Linked DNA regions of Homo sapiens: region 2 is linked to region 1. The links are contacts of gene promoters, found by promoter capture Hi-C in human tissues and cell types (Jung and others, 2019). All regions are on one chromosome and are shown on one strand. Each heading gives the region's core, a stretch centred on a gene start or on the middle of the fragment in contact. The rest is flanking DNA. Distances are from core to core; before and after follow the strand shown.

Region 1 (4,501 bases), core at 1,883-4,382:
GAAGGTCTGCATCTGTTCCTGTCACTGTCTTCTTCACTGCCTGTGGCTCTTTATCATCCTTCTGCTGTGTTGGTTTATTTGGAATCTTCACATAGGAGAATCCTTCACCACACCCTGTGGGATCTGCCACCCCAGTCACCTCTAGGAGACACTTGCCCTTCATGGCAGCAATGAAGGCCCTTGTGGTGTTCCAAGGAGCAGCGTGAACTTCATCATCAATCTTCATCTGGAAATCTTCCTCATTTTCTTCTTCTGGGGCAAAAAAGGATTTCTCACCATAGCCAGCATCCTTCAGTCGTTGCTTTGCAGCTATCATGCTATAATAAGCACAGCACTGCTCTGGTGACACCTTAGCTCTGATCTCTTCTTCCGTTGGTAAACGAAAATCAGACTTAAGCACCCACCAGTTTGAATCCATCCCTGTGCGTTTGAAGTCAGCGCAGAGCTTTAGCCTCTTCCGGATGCTGCTTTCTGAATGGGAAGGAAAGGCTTTTTTTATATCTTCCATTCGTATCCTCCGTGGCCGATCTTTACTCTTCCAGAAAAGGCGGTAAATAAAAACCTGTAGAAAGTCTCGAATATGCATATTGGCCCTTCTGGAGTTAGGCCCAGGAACTTCAAACAAGGGACACTGCTGGCCAACCACAAAAATATCCACTAATTCCCGAATATAGTAACCCTGTCTTGTCCGAATGATCAGAAAATCAGTTTCTGGCATCTTATGAAGATACACTGGAGCACGAAAAAGGTTGTTCTCAAGTGCCTGCAGTAATTGGCCAGGATGGAGAGAGCCCAAGAAAGGAGATGTATGGCAGTAAACAGTTTCCCCATATTTACAATCTGGTGCTCCAGGATCTTTGCCAGGTTTCCGTTTATAATAGTTCTTTATCTTGGTTGCCATGCCAACCTGCATCATTAAGGGTCCATTTTCCTCACTATATTCTGCAAGAATAAGATCTCCATCTTTGCCTGTGAGATCCTGAGGTGTGCGCATAAAAAACAACTCTCCACCACCTGAGGCTTGCCTCTCTTGTTCTCTCATCTTGGCCTTTTTTTTGATGTGCTTTAGCAAAGGTTGGACTGAATGGGGACCTGGCTGAGAGAGTGCACCAAATGAGTACTTTTTCAGAGGTGGGCGATGGAACTGCCGGATTTTGATGGGCCCCATGTGGGTGGGAAAGAAGGGCTGCCATAATTCCATAGCAGGAATTGAATGCTGGATAATATTCCCTCCAAAGGTGCCCCGAAGACCCTGTTGCTTGGGGAAATAATACTCATCATTGGAGAGATTCCATGGATCTTTCACTTCTGGCTGAGACATGTTCTGCTGTGGTTCCTCCCTGATGACACCTGTTTTGCCCAAGAGAATTCGACTCTTCTTCAGAGATGATTCCTTCTTACTCTCCTTGGAGGGGGAGTTAGAGGTGGCCTCTTCCTTCTCATCAGGAATTTCCAAAATGAGGTTCTCATCATTGGGATCAAGTGCCAAAACAGGAGGTTCCAACAGCCGGGGCATGGCCTGAGCATCCCAAATGATATTGTCCTCCCAGCGTCCATACACCAGATCCTCATTGTCAATGGGAAAAATGGAGTACCAAGGTTTGTCATCATCCAGAGTGGGTGCAAAACCTTGCTGAACATTGTAAGCCATTACATTCCTAGTCTTAATAGAAGGAAGCCAGCCTGCCAGGCTTGCACCCTGAGGTTTTGTCCCTTTGTGTTTGATATCCTCCCCATCCCAGATGATAGAATCCTCCCAATGCAGCTGTGTCACCATCAGGAAGTTTTCGTCAGCCAGAAGATCAGTGCCATTGCTTTCCTCAAGTTTCCTAAATTCCTCCATCATTCTAGATTTTATCACAGGTTCATGTTGTGTCTTTCTCAGTTTGAAGCCATAGTCAAACCCACTGCCATCTTCGGAGACACCCAGCATATCATACCACAGTCGGGCAGGCCCATAACGCCACTCAGCCACTCTTGGTTTGGTATCTGTCACTTTATCTACATCTCCAGTTGATTGGGAAAATTTGGACTCCACAGGAACCATCATCGTGATTTCATCATCAGCGAGACACTGCTCTGGGGGTGGTGGTGGAGCATAGTCATAGTTCCACAAAGACTTCTGGCTGACTTCTGATTCTACTGAGCATTCCACCTCCTGGATCTGCTCTTCCTGTATCAGCTCACGATGCTTCTTCCTCTTTCTCCGAGCACTCCGCCAAACAGATGGGACATTCTTCCCTGGTCCAAAAAGATGTAGGAAGCGTAACACTTTTCCAGGTCGAAATTCTGGAAAAAGTTCGGTGACACTTGGCAACAGCTTGGTGGCATCATGCTGCATAATCCCAGCCAATGGAAGGGTCAGCTTTCCATCCTCAGATTCTGCCTGTGTTGCTTCCTGAGGTCCCATCTCAGATTCTGAATCAGAGTAACTACTGAAATCCACTTTCTCTGAGGCCAAAAAGGAAGGGGCAATGATGGAGGGCAAGATGATGTCTTCTCCACTTTCAGACACACAGGTAATAGCATCTTGGTCCTTATCCTTCTTCATTGGTCCCGGGGGTGGAGGTGGAGGAGGCATCAACTTGCAATCAATGTCTTCACAATCAGCATCATAGTCATCTTCATCATAATCCGAGTGGTAAAGGGGCTGCAAGCTCCCCATCGTCTGCTGGTGTCTTTGGCTTTCATCTTCTGCCACCTCATTGATGTCTGAATAGTCTACAGCATCTTCTGTACTCCTAATCCACCCTTCATCATTTACCAAGGCACCGCCAGTCCCAGTCAATTCTTCATTTGCCGTGAGTTCAGTGATTAGGCTGCCCAGCCCCAAAGCCCCCAAGCCTGCCAAGTGCTTCTTACACTCATCATCCAAGACGCTTTCCCCCTCCAGCTGCCCCGCTCCACTGATGTTGCCGAAAAGGATACCCGCTAAAGTAAATGGGCCACCTCCAGATGAATCTTCCTCGCTGTCCGAGTCTGACATGATGGCGGCAGTGACGGTAGCTGCTGCCCTCAGCAGCAAATCGCAGCCGGGTCGCATAAACCGGAAATAAAACAACAGTCGCCCGGAAGTGATCTACTTAGCTCCCTTACCCTACCAGCGTCTACCGGAAGCTGAATAAAGGCGGGGGGAGGGGGCAAAGGGGCGGGGGGAAAAACCCGCAAAACTTTTTTTTTTTTTTTTTTTTGAGACGGAGTCTCGCAACGTCGCCCAGGCTGGAGTGCAGTGGCGCGATCTTGGCTCACTGCAAGCTCTGCCTTCTGGGTTCACGCCATTCTCCTGCCTCAGCCTCCTGAGTAGCTGGGACTACAGGCGCTCGCCACCACGCCTGGCTAATTTTTTTTTTTTTGTATTTTCAGTAGAGACGGGGTTTCACCATGTTAGCCTCTCGATCTCCTGACCTCGTGAACCGCCTGCCTCGGCCTCCCAAAGTGCTGGGATTACAGGCGTAAGCCACCGCGCCCAGCCTGTTTGCTGGTTTTTGAGACAAAGTCTTGCTCTGTCGCCCCAGGCTGGCGTGCAGTGGCACAATCTCGGCTCACTGAAACCTCCACCTCAGGAGTTCAAGAGATTCCTGCCTCAGCCTCCACAGTAGCTGGGATTACAGGCATGAGCCACCATGCCTGGCTAATTTTTTGTATTTTTAGTGGAGACAAGATTTCACCATATTGGCCAGGCTAGTCTTAAACTCCTGACCTCAGATGGTCAGCCCGTCTCTGTCTCCGAAAGTGCTGGGATTACAGGCGTGAGCCACTGCACCCAGCCTCTGTAAATCTCTTTATACATGAACTGCATATGTATGCTTCTCCAAATAATCTATAGCATTGTCATGCTTTACAATTTTGTATAAAAGGCATCTTACTGTGTGTACTCGTTTTTTTTTTCCCCCTTCCTTTTTTTTAAGAGATGGGATCTCACTATGTTAGCCAAGCTGGTCTTAAACTCCTCCTGGCCTCAAGCAATCCTCCCACTTTGGCCTCCCAAAGTGCTGAGATTACAGGCAAGAGCCACCAAACCCGACCTTACTGTATGTACTCTTAGCCAGAATGTTTTCTGGATAAAATTTATGTTTATGATATTCAACTATGTTGATGCATTCAATTCTATTTTTATAGCTCTATAGTGTTCTACAGTATGGTTATGCTACAATTTATCTATGTTCCTATGTTTGTTCATTTAAATTGTTCCCAAATTGTTCCTCTTATAAATAATGTATATGATTCCTTGAGCATATGTAGGACACATTCTCCAGGGTATACATCTAGGAGTGGAATTACTAGATTTTACAATATATGCTTTTTCAACTACACTTGCTATTACTAAATTGTTCTCCAAAGTAGTTGTACCATTTTACATACCTAACAGCAGTGTATAAAAGTTCTCACCTCTCCACATCCATTCTAACACTTAGCATTGTCATTTGTTAATTTTTGTTCATTTCTAATAAATGTATAATGATAATGTGGTTTTAATTTGTATTTTTCTGATTGCTACTGA
Region 2 (4,586 bases), core at 1,705-4,204, 83 kb after region 1:
TTTGTAGGGACATGGATGAAATTGGAAATCATCATTCTCAGTAAACTATCGCAAGAACAAAAAACCAAACACCGCATATTCTCACTCATAGGTGGGAATTGAACAATGAGATCACATGGACACAGGAAGGGGAATATCACATTCCAGGGACTGTGGTGGGGTGGGGGGAGGGGGGAGGGATAGCACTGGGAGATATACCTAATGCTAGATGACAAGTTAGTGGGTGCAGCGCACCAGCATGGCACATGTATACATATGTAACTAACCTGCACAATGTGCACATGTACCCTAAAACAAAATATGATAAAAAAATAAAAAATAAAACAGTAAAATAAAATGGGGAGGCATGAATAATCCACCCCTTGTTTAGCATATCATCAAGAAATAACCATAAAAATGGATAACCAGCAGCCTTTGGGCTGCTCTGTCTATGGAGTAGCCATTCTTTTATTCCTTTACTTTCTCAATAAACTTGCTTTCACTTTATTCCATGGACTTGCACCAAGTTCTTGCACAAAATCCAAGAACTGTCTCTTGGGGTCTGGATCTGGACCCTTTCCTGTAACAACCACATACAGATAATAGTTTGTGAACTATGTTCAATTTCTATTAGAGTAACTGTAAGGCAAGACCTCTTTCTGCTGCACTCAAAAAACCTGCCGGAATATGCATGTGGGGGACATTATTGTAGGGTAATTTTGAATCTGCCCTAATTGACAAAGAAAAAATGGAAACCTCTAACAAACTTTCATACTCTATTGATAACGCAGTACTTTTAACAAAACAAGTAGTCACCTGGTTAAGAACTGCCAGCCTAAGAGGTTGTGACCACTAAAATTTGTCCAACCAGAAGTGGAGTCTACAAAACTCTACAGGCTAGCGTGCCTAGAGCATGCTCAGTAATCCACCCCCAAAATCTCAGCCACGTGGCATTTACCTTTGTGTTTCTGACTATCCCATGGGCAATCAGAGGTCCACAGACAACCAAAGGTTAAAATGAGATGGATGTTACATGTCACACACTGCCTGGGGGAGTGCTTGCAAGTTGCACAAAGCAACTGGAACTTCACTATGTCACTCCCTCATCTGAACTACTTGCTGAGACAGCTCTTTTTGTAAAGGGTCATTTCTGTCCGGCAGCTGAGCTCTGGGACAGAAATGATGTTTGGCAATACCAGCCTCTAGCAATGAAGCCAACTTTAAATCAGAAATGCTGTGAGAGTGTGGGATGCCAGATTGTGTTTTACAGAGGCTGGAAAGCTCCAATCTTGCCTGGCAAGGCTGTCAGAAGGATCTCTCCAACTCTTTGGTTTTCACAGCCTCTGGAGCTGAGCTAGCTGCTCACTACACATTTTCATGACCATCGAGTCCCTGTGAATGGAAGTGTTCTATTTCATACTGTGGGTTTTGGTGTGAATTCTAGATCGCAGCTTAGGTTAAACTACAAAACATGGGTGTTTCTGTGGGACACCAGAGGCACTGGAGATAATTTGGGTGAATACACAGAAATCTGTGGAAGAGTAGGATTTGGTCTTTGTCAAACGGTCTAGAGTGGCTGTGCCTTGTTCTTTATCTTATAAAGAAATCAATGCATACTTTACTGCCACCAACGCCCCTTCCTTCATATCACCAAAGTCATTCTTCTACTATTCAGAAAAAAGGGATATTGTTGCTGCTTAGTTGTAAGGGTTCATGGCAGCAAACATTCTTCAGAAGAGATCTATAACTTTCTGGATGCTGCTGCCCCCGTCTCGTTGCTATGGTTAGAGTACATGCTGCTTCTGTCTTCTAACCTTCTTACGCAGCACTGTGGCCATCACTCATTGGTACTATTCATGCTCCTGCAAATTAAAGCACAGGTGCTGCCCTCCTCTCAGGGTGCTTCCTATAAAACTGAGCAAAATGAGTATTCATCCTGATGCATTCAAAAAATATTTACTGAACACTGATATGTGCTTGTCTGGTATCTCAAGCTGATTTGCTTTATCTGAAAAGCGTCTAGTTTACAGATGGATTAGCTTTCCCTTGTATTATTTGCCAAATATTCTAAATAAATAATATAAAGGCAGAGATGCTGTAAAAATTATAAAAATGAAGGTGTCATATCTCAGGATTCTATAGTCAGCCCTTTATCCTTTCTCTTCTCACTCTACACTCCTCCTTGGAATGTAAAATACCCTTTAATGATTATAATTAGCCCCTAAAGTCTCTATCATCAGTCCATACATGACTGCTGAATTTCATACCTATATGTGCAACTACTAACCAGTCATCTTCAGAAGTCAGGCAAGAAATTAGATTCATGACATTCCCAAACCAGAATTCATCGTTTGGCAAAGCTCCCACCCCCCCTTCTCCACCCCTCTCCTCCACCGCTTTCCCTCCCAAATCACCTGCTTCCCTCCATGGGCTCCAGGTTTTAGCTGGTGGCACCGCCCATCAGAAACACTGCTGTCCCATTGGATTCCTTTTCCTTCACCCTCCACATTAAATCAGAGAACAAATCCCACTGATTGAACCTCTCAAAGAGTCCTCACAACTCTTTTTTCCCTTTCTTTCCTGCAGCCACCACTGAGGCCTCCGCGCCTCTCACTTGGACTATTTTTCTGATTGGTATCCTCGCCTGCAGTTTAACAGCCTCCAACCAGAAGTGGAGGTTCTGTCCGTGGGATCTAAAACACGACTCTGATCGTGTCACCACCACCCTACGAAAATGCTTCAAGTTTTCCTCATCATCTGGGAAATAAAATCCAGCATCCTTAGAGGGTTCAGATCCTCCCACTCCCCCTGCATTGAACCTGCACTTTAGGCTTACCCAACCCTAGTAATTAGTAGCATCCTATTTCTTGTTGCCATATCTTTGCCTTTGTTTCCACTGCCTGAAATCTTTCCCCACTTCATCCATCTCATAACTTCTTATAATTCAAATAATTCTTATTTGTGCTTTAAAACTCACTCACAGGCAGCCTCTTCCTGGAAGCCTTTTCTGACTTACCTGCTCCTTGTTGTTTCTGCATCTTATATGCCAATTTTCTATTGTTCTATTTTGTTTTGTTTTGCTTTGTTTTTATATGAGACAGGGTCCTGCTCTGTTGCCCAGGCTGGAGTGCAGTGGCACGAGCTCAGCCTCAACCTCCTGGGGCTCAAGCAATCCTCCCACCTTGGCCTCCCTAGTAGTTGGGACTACAGGCACATACCAGTACACCTGGCTAATTTTATTTTTTGTAAAGACGATGTCTCACCATGTGGCCCAGGGTGCTCAAACTCCTGGGAGCAATCCTCCGGGATTATAGGTGTGTGCCACCACACCCAGCCTTCTATTGTTCTTATCCCCCAATTGTCACTGGGGATCCCCTATTACACCATGAGCTTCCTGAGGGCAAGGATTATTTCTCTCTGCCTCCTCTGTTCTGGGTACTGTGCCTGGCACATGGTACAAGCAAATGAGTCTTTGTAGGTATAAATAGATAGATGCTCTCAACTAGACTCCAAAGTGTGTGTGTGTTGGGCGGGGGTGGTGGGCGGGAGAAAGAGAAAAAGAGAGGACAGAAGGGAGGGAGAGGGATTTAAAAAAAAAATCAACAGTTTTTCTAGTTCTTTAAAAATGGAGGCTTAGATTCACCTCTGAGGGAACATTGTTTCTTGTGTCTGGAAAACTTTAATGACCCCTTATGCAAACATGAGGCTATCATCTTCAATTGCAATGGAAAGTTTTTAGAGGCAATCAGGGCTCAACTGCTCTGCATGGAACGTAAGGGTAGTCTTTATTGATGATACAGAGGCATTCCCAGGATTACTATACTACTGGGAGACTGGCGGTAGACTGAGATGAGGAGAAATGGAGTGTTCCCCTGGGTGTTAGTGGAGTGGGGCTCTGGATCTGTGATAGGCAGGAACTCGTAAAAGCACTCCTATTGTAGGGAAGCAAATGAGCCCCTGCAAGGCCTCAGGCTGGTTGTGAGGGGATCCAGCACCAGGAGGTGTTCCCTGTGGAAGAGCATGACCAGAGGACCAGAGAAAAGACACACGTGGTGTCCAGTTTTACGGCACCCTGACTGTGTCATTCCTCCTGTTACCCCATTCTTCAGTAAAGCTTTTTTAAATGTACCAGCCCCATCTTGGTTGAGATTTGGGTAATTAATACAGCAACCAGTGTCCACTGTCACTGAATCAACACAAAGACTACCAATGTAGTCTCAAATTGAAGCTGAGTTTATTACGCACCAGGCAAAGGAGAATTAAGTTTCTTTCTTTTTCCTTTTTTTTTTTTTTTTTGCTGTTTAAATGATTTATTTTATTTTAAAAATCATTTATTTCTTTAAATTTTATTTTATTTTTTAAGTTCCGGGATATATGTGCAGGATGTGCAGGTTTGTTGCACAGGTAAATGTGTGCCATGGTGGTTTGCTGCACCTGTCAACCCATCACCTATGTATTAAGCCCTGCATACATTAGCTATTTATCCTAGACAATCAAGTTTCTTAAGAAAAGTCAGTGAGTGTTCCCCAAACTGAAAGTGAAAAGAGTAGATACAGTATGGAGAAGGGGAAGTTCTTCCCAAGTTTCTGAATGGTTCAAAATGGATC

The links. The method cuts DNA at HindIII sites, captures the fragments that hold promoters and counts their contacts. A contact is called where the count stands out against the background at its distance.
Region 2: a contact is called between a fragment that was not itself captured here and the fragment with the promoter of TAF1L in region 1, in 2 of the 25 tissues and cell types used here (dorsolateral prefrontal cortex and lymphoblastoid cells).

The regions. Positions count from the first base shown.
Region 1 is chr9:32,632,537-32,637,037 of GRCh38, forward strand. TAF1L (TATA-box binding protein associated factor 1 like) reads right to left here and starts at 3,133. Exons shown (of 1, transcript NM_153809.2): 1 at 1-3,133. The coding sequence starts at 3,043. The HindIII fragment of the contact is 9,470 bases long and covers 1-4,501 here.
Region 2 is chr9:32,716,071-32,720,656 of GRCh38, forward strand. The region is part of intron 4 of LOC105376017 (a long non-coding RNA gene); the gene reads right to left. Among named protein-coding and RNA genes, the nearest start is that of TMEM215, 65 kb to the right of the region's middle. The HindIII fragment of the contact is 3,870 bases long and covers 1,020-4,586 here.